Linked DNA regions of Homo sapiens: region 1 is linked to region 2. The links are contacts of gene promoters, found by promoter capture Hi-C in human tissues and cell types (Jung and others, 2019). All regions are on one chromosome and are shown on one strand. Each heading gives the region's core, a stretch centred on a gene start or on the middle of the fragment in contact. The rest is flanking DNA. Distances are from core to core; before and after follow the strand shown.

Evidence for each region. Contacts are between HindIII fragments. The study calls those that stand out against the background at their distance.
Region 1: the fragment with the promoter of VPS4A here is called in contact with the fragment with the promoter of LCAT in region 2 in 1 of the 25 tissues and cell types used here (dorsolateral prefrontal cortex).

Annotation. Positions count from the first base shown.
Region 1 is chr16:69,309,009-69,312,854 of GRCh38, forward strand. It overlaps VPS4A (vacuolar protein sorting 4 homolog A), which reads left to right and starts at 2,342. Exons shown (of 11, transcript NM_013245.3): 1 at 2,342-2,524. The coding sequence starts at 2,504. It overlaps SNTB2 (syntrophin beta 2), which reads left to right. Exons shown (of 7, transcript NM_006750.4): 7 at 1-44. RefSeq lists enhancers at 1,214-2,164, 2,165-3,114 and silencers at 2,057-2,196, 2,257-2,806. The HindIII fragment of the contact is 10,929 bases long and covers 1-3,846 here.
Region 2 is chr16:67,942,870-67,946,891 of GRCh38, forward strand. LCAT (lecithin-cholesterol acyltransferase) reads right to left here and starts at 1,251. Exons shown (of 6, transcript NM_000229.2): 1 at 1,079-1,251; 2 at 187-343; 3 at 1-107. The coding sequence starts at 1,232. It overlaps SLC12A4 (solute carrier family 12 member 4), which reads right to left. Exons shown (of 24, transcript NM_005072.5): 18 at 3,569-3,764; 19 at 3,302-3,471; 20 at 3,082-3,213; 21 at 2,895-3,002; 22 at 2,500-2,684; 23 at 2,218-2,351; 24 at 605-2,062. The coding sequence ends at 1,971. RefSeq lists an enhancer at 1-382. The HindIII fragment of the contact is 35,269 bases long and covers 1-4,022 here.

The sequences.
Region 1 (3,846 bases), core at 1,092-3,591, 1.4 Mb after region 2:
CCTTTGTAACCTTTATACTGTAAATAAAAAAGTTGCTTTAGTCACGTGGGTTGTTTTTTTTTTCCAATTTTTAAAATGCTGAAATAGTTTTGAACCTACAGGAAAGTTACAAAAACAATACAAATCTTCTTCACCCAAACCTTCCAGTTGTTAACATTTTGCCATATTTATTCCATTACCTTGTCTTTCTCTAATATGATTCTCTAGCACCCTTAAATTCTCTAGTGAGGACCTCCAAAACATAAGGACAGTCCTTGCATTGCCACCATAAAGTCCTCCTAATCAAGAAATCAACATTGGCACACCACCACTCATTCCATAGACCCCATTCAAATGATGCCAGCCATCCCGGCCATGTCCTGTTTTCCTCTCTGGCCTTGGATCCTGGCCAATACCACTTTCTTGCCTTTTGTCGTCGTGTCTCAGTTCTTCAGTCTGGAATGTTCCTCGGCCTTACTCTAATTCGCATGTGCCTGAGTCTCAGCACAAGGCTTTGATTGTTCAGCACAGCTCTCCAGCTGGCTCTATTCGGTGTTGCCTCACAACCAGGCTGTGTCACACACTCTTGGCAGAGATGCCACGATGCCATGCTCTCTTCAGGGTATCATGTGGAGAGACACACGAGGGCCACGCATCCCACCACCAGGGGTGTTCCCTTCGGTCGCGTAGTCAAGCTAATGTCCTCATTGTTTTCTCCTTTGTATTTATTTATTTATTTAGAGATGGAGTTCCGCTCTTGTCGCCCAGGCTGGAGTGCAATGGCGTGGTCTTGGCTCACTGCAACCTCCGCCTCCCAGGTTCAAGCGATTCTCCTGTCTCAGCCTCCCAAGTAGCTGGGATTACAGGTGCCCACCACCATGGCCGGCGAATATTTTGTATTTTTAGTAGAGACAGGGTTTCACCATGTTGGCCAGGCTGGTCTTGAACTCCTGACCTCAAGTGATCCACCTGCCTCGGCCTCCCAAAGTACTGGGATTATAGGCGTGAGCCACCGCGCCCGGCCTCTCCTTTGTATTTAATTAGCATTTTGTGAAGAGAGATTAAGGTGTGCCAATTTTTTGGTTTTTTTTTTTTTTTTTTTTTTTTTTTTTTTTTTTTTTTTTTGGAGGCAGGGTCTTGCTTCATTTCCCAGGGTGGAGTACAATGGCCTGGTCACGGCTCACTACAGCCTCGACCTCCCAGGCTCCAGCAATTCTCCCAACTCAGCTTACGGAGTAGCTGGGACTACAGGTGTGCGCCACCATGCCCAGATACGTTTTTTATTTTTTGTAGCGATGGGGGTTCACCTGTTGCCGAGGCTGTTCTCGAATTCCTCGGCCCAAGCAATCGGCCTGCCTCGGCTTCCCAAAGTGTTGGGATTACAGGCATGAGCCCCCATACCCAGCCTCAACTTGGATGTTTTTTGCCCTCCATTTTTTTTCTCTCACAGGATAGACTTGTGGACAAATGGATCACTTGCCTCTGGTGCGTTTTTTTGTTTGTTTGTTTTGTTTTGTTTCTTAATTTAGCGACGAGGTCTTACTATGTTGCCCAAGCTGGTCTTGATCCTCGGCTCAAGCAATCCTCCTGCCTTGGCCTCCCAAAGTGCTGGAATTACAGGCGTGGGCCAGTACACCCAGCCCTAGAACTGCTTTGATCATTGTATCCCCAGAAACTAGCACACAACGCTGCACACAGTAGGTGTGCATGCCTGTAATCCCAGCTACTCGGGAGGCTGAAGCAGGAGAATCGCTTGAACCCGGGAGGCGGAGGTCGCAATGAGCCGAGATCATGCCACTGCACTCCAGCCTAGGCGACAGAGCAAGACTCCGTATCAATCAATCAGTCAATCAATCCAAGCAAAACAAAACTGGCTTTGAACAGTCAGCGGCATCCCACCAGGGATTGAGCCCCAGTGTGGGGCACACTCTGTTTACATTAGCTAGCTCATTTATTCCCCACAAAAGCCAGACAAGGCAGGTACTAATTATGATCGTGCGATATTAAACATGGAGAAACCAACGCTCTGATAAGTTCGTTTTATTGTGAGAATAAAACTGCTCAATGGGCGCTGTTATTCCAAGCGAGGTCAGGATTTCCGGATTCTACCCCGCTCCGCCCCTGGCCCCGCCCCGAGAATGTACGTCCCGCCAGGCCCCGCCCCGGCCTTGTCCCACCCACCCCGTCCCCGCCCCCTGTCCGTCTCGCCCTAGTCCCACCTCCTCGTCCCCAGTCAGTCCTGCCTCTCGAACCGCCCCCTGCCTTCGCCGAGGCAGGGAGAGGTGCCTGCAGTGCGAGCCGTGGACGCTAGGGGGCAGCCGCTCGGCTCGGGCCCGACCGCTCTGGGCTGCGCTCCTCGCTTGCCCTCGGACTCGGCTCCCGCTGCGAGCGGCCGCCCTGCCCGCGCACCGCGCTCAGCGCCCACCGCCGGGCTTCCCGCGCCGGACCCAGTACCTCGGCTCCCCGGGGCCGGACCGAGGCCGCAAGCAGCGCCGCGGGGTGTGGGGCGGACCCAGGAGATGAAATGACAACGTCAACCCTCCAGGTACTTCGTGCGGCCCGGCCCGACTTCGGAGGCCGAAGGCAGCGGGGCCTGCGGGCCGCAGAGCCGGGCGGCGGGCGGGTGGTCAGGTGGGCGCCTCCCAGCCCCGGCCTCGCGACCCCGCTCCGGCCGCCCCCTCGCCGCTTCCGCCCGTGTCTGTTTCCACGCGCTCGGAGCCGGGTGGCATCTCCACCCTCAGGCCTTCCGGCCCTGCCCGGCTGGCCCAGCCCCAGGGCCGCTTCGTGTAGCCGGCGCCCCGGTACCGCCGTGGGGATCAGCCTCACCCGAGCCGCACAGGCACCCTCAGGAAGCTCGGCCCGGGGTCCGGCTGGGCGTTCAGACAGCGATGCTCGCTCCCTCCTCTCCTGTCTCGCTCCCTCCTCTCCTGTCCCGGGTCCTGGAAGTCCCTCGACCTCACTTCGAACAAGCCCCGGCCCCTTCCCCAATCTTCGACTTCCTCTTCTCGGCCAGCGACCCTTCATTCATTCCCTAGATCCTGCAGGGTGGTGCTGGGATGGCGCCACCTGGGTGAACAACTGACCCACCCTCTAGGTGCTGTCAGTCCTGCGGGGCCAGAAGAGATCAACATGCTCAGGCCTCATTCCGGGGTTTGAATCTCAGCTCTGCCACTCACCAGCAAGTGACCTTGGGCTAGTTTTTTTTTTTCATCTTCGGGTCTCGAGTTTCCTGGTCTGTAAAATGGGGTAATGCCCTCTAGGTTGTTGTGATGATAGCTTTAAATTGAATAATTACGGTAAAGCATTCTTGTATGTCTGGCACATAGTAGGTGTCCATTAAGTGACAGCCAACAAAGTGCCTGGGAGAGTTAGGCAAGACTTCATGGAAGAAGGGACATCAGAGTTCCAGTAGCATTCAGAGACCTGGAGGTGGAGGAGGGCAGAAGTAGGAGCAGACATGGAATGAGTTGGGGTACCAGGTTAGGAATTAAGAGTCCATAGCCAGATCCCACCGTACCACCAGCAGAAGCCGCAGATCCCGTCTGCCCAGGCAGGTTTTTTATGGCCCGTGAACCGAGAATGTTTTTCAGTTTCAAACACAGGTGTATTTATTTATTTTTAAATTTTATTTATTTATTTTTTTGAGATGGAGTCTCACTCTGTCACCCAGACTGGAGTGCAGTGGTGTGATCTTGGCTCACTGCAGCCTCTGCCTCTCAGGTTCAAGCGATTCTCCTGCCTCAGCCTCCTGAGTAGCTGGGATTACGGGCACCCGCAACCACGCCCGGCTAATTTTTGTATTTTTAGTAGAGACCGGGTTTCACCGTGTTGGCCAGGCTGGTCTCGAACTCCCGACCTCAGATGATC
Region 2 (4,022 bases), core at 1-2,500:
TGCTGCTGTCCAGGTACTCCACAGAGTAGGTCTTGCCAAAGCCAGGGACGCGGATCTGGACACCAGGGGCGTTGGACACGAGCCCAGAGCTCCGGTTGTAGACAACCCTGCGGGGCGGGGGTGCCACTCAGCAGCCAGTAGCCAAGGGGCAGCGTGTTGGGGCTAGGGTGGAGCACATGGCTGTACCTGGTGTTATCGATCCAGCAGTCTACCCCAAGGGGTAGGAACATGTTGAGATCCAGCCAGATGGTGAAGAAGTCCTCTGTCTTGCGGTAGCACATCCAGTTCACCACATCTGGTTTGTCCAGCTTGGCTTCTAGCTGATTCCCCAGGCAGCCGGGCACTGTGAGCAGCAGCCCTCACTCTGGACTCTGGATTCCCCCCGTGACCCTTACCCCCGTCACCCCAGATGCTGCAGTGACCAGACCCACCCCCCACCTCCCATACCCTCAACCCCCAGGTACAAAGCACACTTACCCTCCCCTGCTTACACCCCCTCTCCCTGCTGTCCCCCCAGTAGCCAAAGCCCAGGCTTCCCTGAGGAAGGGAAGGCGCTGAGGTGCTGAGGCCAAGGCCGCTGACCCCTGCCTCTGCAGAGCAAACACCCAGTCTGGCGCTCCTTTATTGCCAAAGTCCAAGGTGGGAACAGATAGGTCTGGGGGCATGGGGGCTGGGCCTAATAGGGGCCGGGCATGGATGGGCCTCTCCTGCTCACCGATCCTGGGCTGGGCATCTTGTCCTTGGTGGGTGGGGGCCAAGGAAGGAGTGGTGGGGCTTGGCCCAGAGTCTGGTGTGGCTGTGACTGACCACAGCTTGTGATGCCCCAGCCAAGACCTCAGGCACACCCCGTCCCCCACTCCGCCCCCCCTGGGTTAGACAACTGAGAGTCACAGTGTGGTGGGAGAAGGGACGTCATTCCTCTAAGGGACAAGCTTTTGGCCCCTCCCCACACCAGGGCAGGTACTTATGTCGGGGCTTATGCAGGGCAGAAGGGCTTTGGCCAGGTCAGCTGCCAGGGGCTGGGGCCCAGGCTCCCCAGGGTCTGGCGTGGTGCATCAGGGGCCTGGTGGGGGCTTACCGAGGATGACGGGCCGTGTGTGGTTACTGAGCTCAGCCTTGGGCGTGGTGTGCGGGGGGAAGAGCACATTGAGGAGCCAGAAGGGGGCGGCAGGAGGGAGCAGCAGCCCCAGCAGCAGCGTCACCCACTGCCATGGGGAGCCGGGCGGCCCCATTCCAGCCCTGGTGCCTACTGCCAGAGAAAGCGGCACTGGGCTGTCCTTATCTGGTGTGGGAGTGGGAGGGGCCCTAGGGCCAGTGGGAGGGACGGCCTGGCCAGTGGGGGTTGTGGCCAGAGATTGCCGGAAAGGGGCACAGCCTCAGGGAGCCGGCTCTGGGCCTGGGTTCAGTTCCGCCTTCTTCTCTTGGCGCCAGGGGAAACAGAGCCGGGGCAGCAGGAGGCCCAGAACTACACAATGTTTTATTGAAAAAGTCAGGCCTCAGCTCAGCTGTCTCCATTCGGCTCAGCTTGGTGGGGGGCCCTGCCCATAGTAGACTGAGCCAGATCTTCCTGCAGGCAGCTGGGCTGGACTCCCTCCCTGGCTACCCTTCCCTTCGTCTCTGATGGTGACATCCAAACAATAAATATGCAATAAATAGCGCTCCTGGGCTGGGCCGGGCCGGCTGCCTTCAAACCCCACTCGGCCCCTACCAGTCTTCTCTGGCCAGGACAGGCCTACTGGGGTGCTAGATAGTAAAGTCCCCAAACATCCCAGGGTCCCACAAGACCTGGGATCCATCTCCATTTTGAGGCCCAGGCCTGGTTTCCAAGGAGACCTAGCAAAGCTGGGTCCAGGACAGGGCCAGGCAAGCAGGGCTGGCAGGTGGGTGCTGGGAAGAGGCTGTTACCCCAGACCACAGCTTGTTATGTCCTGGCCAAGACCTCGACTCCAGGCCACAAGATGACACTGGGCTCAGGAGTAGATGGTGATGACTTCACGGCCACCACCGCGCACCAACAGCACCCGCTCAAGGCCCTCGGTCAGCACCTCGAGGAACTCCATGTCTGCAGGGCCTCAAGTCAAGGAGGCAACAACAGAATCAACGGGCAACCCGGGCCACCTGGGCCATGCCCACCCAGGGGTGCCCAGGAGAGAAGCCGCTGGCTTGACCTCCCATGCTATCCACCTCCCAACTGCCTGCCTCTCCACAAAGGGATACAGTTCTCGTCGCCCTCACTGTTCCTGGGTGGGCCAGGCATGTTTAGGAGAACCAGGCGGGCGTCGTGGGAGCGCGTGACAATGACTTCATTGAGCTTCACAGCAGTGTGCATGCGCCGCACATTGGATTGGTCCCTACACGTAGTGTAGCCAGTCACAGGTCGCCATGAGCCATCCTGCAAGGAGGGTCCCCACCCCTGGCCCATCTAACACTACTTGTCTGCCCCACCCCACCTCCACCCCTAGATTCCAGTGCCGCTGGGGCTGTTTTTGCTGCACTCACGGCTTAATGTGCACCAGCTCCCGGAAATTGTCAGGGGCATGGCTGGGGTCCCAGGTCTCAGTCATGTACTTGTCCCTGGTCCACGTCATCTGGATCTTGTCAGCCCCCACTGCAGACTCATCTTCCTCGTCCGAGTACAGGCTCTCCAGCCGCAGGGCCGAGTGCCGATCCTTGACCAGCTGGGCCTGAGGACAATTGCAGGAGATAGCCTTGGTCCCATAGGAAAAGGGGGATGGGGCCTGTCTGGCCCAATGTGACCACCTTGCCTCCGGGAAATGAGCACTAGCTTGGGTAGGGCTGCGGTGAGTCATTCTGATTCCTCCGCACCCACCGATGCGGTCTCCAAAGGCCTGACCCTGCCACCCGCCCTGGCGTGAACCACAAAGGGCACTGACTTCTCGCTCCCGCTCAGTCTTGGTCAGTCTCATCTGCCGCAGCATCTGCGACCGCTGCTCCATCATCAGCGTCCGCTCGTAGGTGTATGCAGAGATGTCACTGTTATGCTGGGGACAGGGTTGGCCGTGAGGACCCAGCTGCACGGGACATGGTATCCACGGGGCCAGGGCAGGGCAGAGGGCTCACCATCTCCACCACCTCCACCTCGGCCTCAAGGCGCAGATGGTACAGAAAGACAGCCAGGTCCTTCTTCATCTGGATGCTGTTGTCATCCATCTGGGCCACTGTGAAGATGCGCATCCGGCACTTCCTCCAGACCTGAGGCAAGGGACCAGGTGGGCGGTTTGGTCACAGCTGCTCCTCCAAGGGCCTAGCCCCTCTCATCTGCACCCACCCCCTGGTCTACCTTATGCTGGCGCAGCAGGAAGGGCAGAAGCATGAGCATGCCACCATCGTGCACGATCCACCACACGTCTATGTGGCCCTCCAGGTAGCGCTCGTGGTTGCTGGGGTAGAAGGCGATGTTCTTGGGCACGAGCAGGGCCAGGTGGGCAGCCGTAGTGCAGCGCACGGTGTCTGGGGAGGAGGAGCACGGCTGACCACCAGTCTGTGGCCCTCCGCCCACTGCCACCTCACTTCACCCCTGCCCACCAGGCCCCAGGCCTTCACACACCAATGAAGGTCTTCCAGGCACGGGGGTCCTCGCTCTGTCGCCAGCCGTAGGGCCAGCCCAGCACCACGGAGTTATGCCGCATGCCTCCCAGGCCACAGGACTGGATGAGGTGGGCCAGCCCCTCCCGCACCTTGCTGGCCACCACCACCTGGCAGAAGCCCTTCACCTTCTCAATTTCCATCATGTTCTTGATGGTCTGTGGGGAACACACCCAGGGCCAATGGGAGGCCATCAGCTTCCTGCCTCTGGGCTCCCTCCCAAGGCCCCTCGGGAACAAAACGACTTTTGGGTGGAGGAGGGCCTGGGGGCAACAAGCTGCCTACCCAGAGGCCAAGTTTTCAAGATGGGACTGCTGGCTCCCCCTTGTGCCAGCTCTCAGGTGGCAGCAGTGCTGGCTGCCTGGCTGGCCACCCTGGCCAAGACTGGGCCCTCCCCTCCGTGCCAGCTGCAGTCC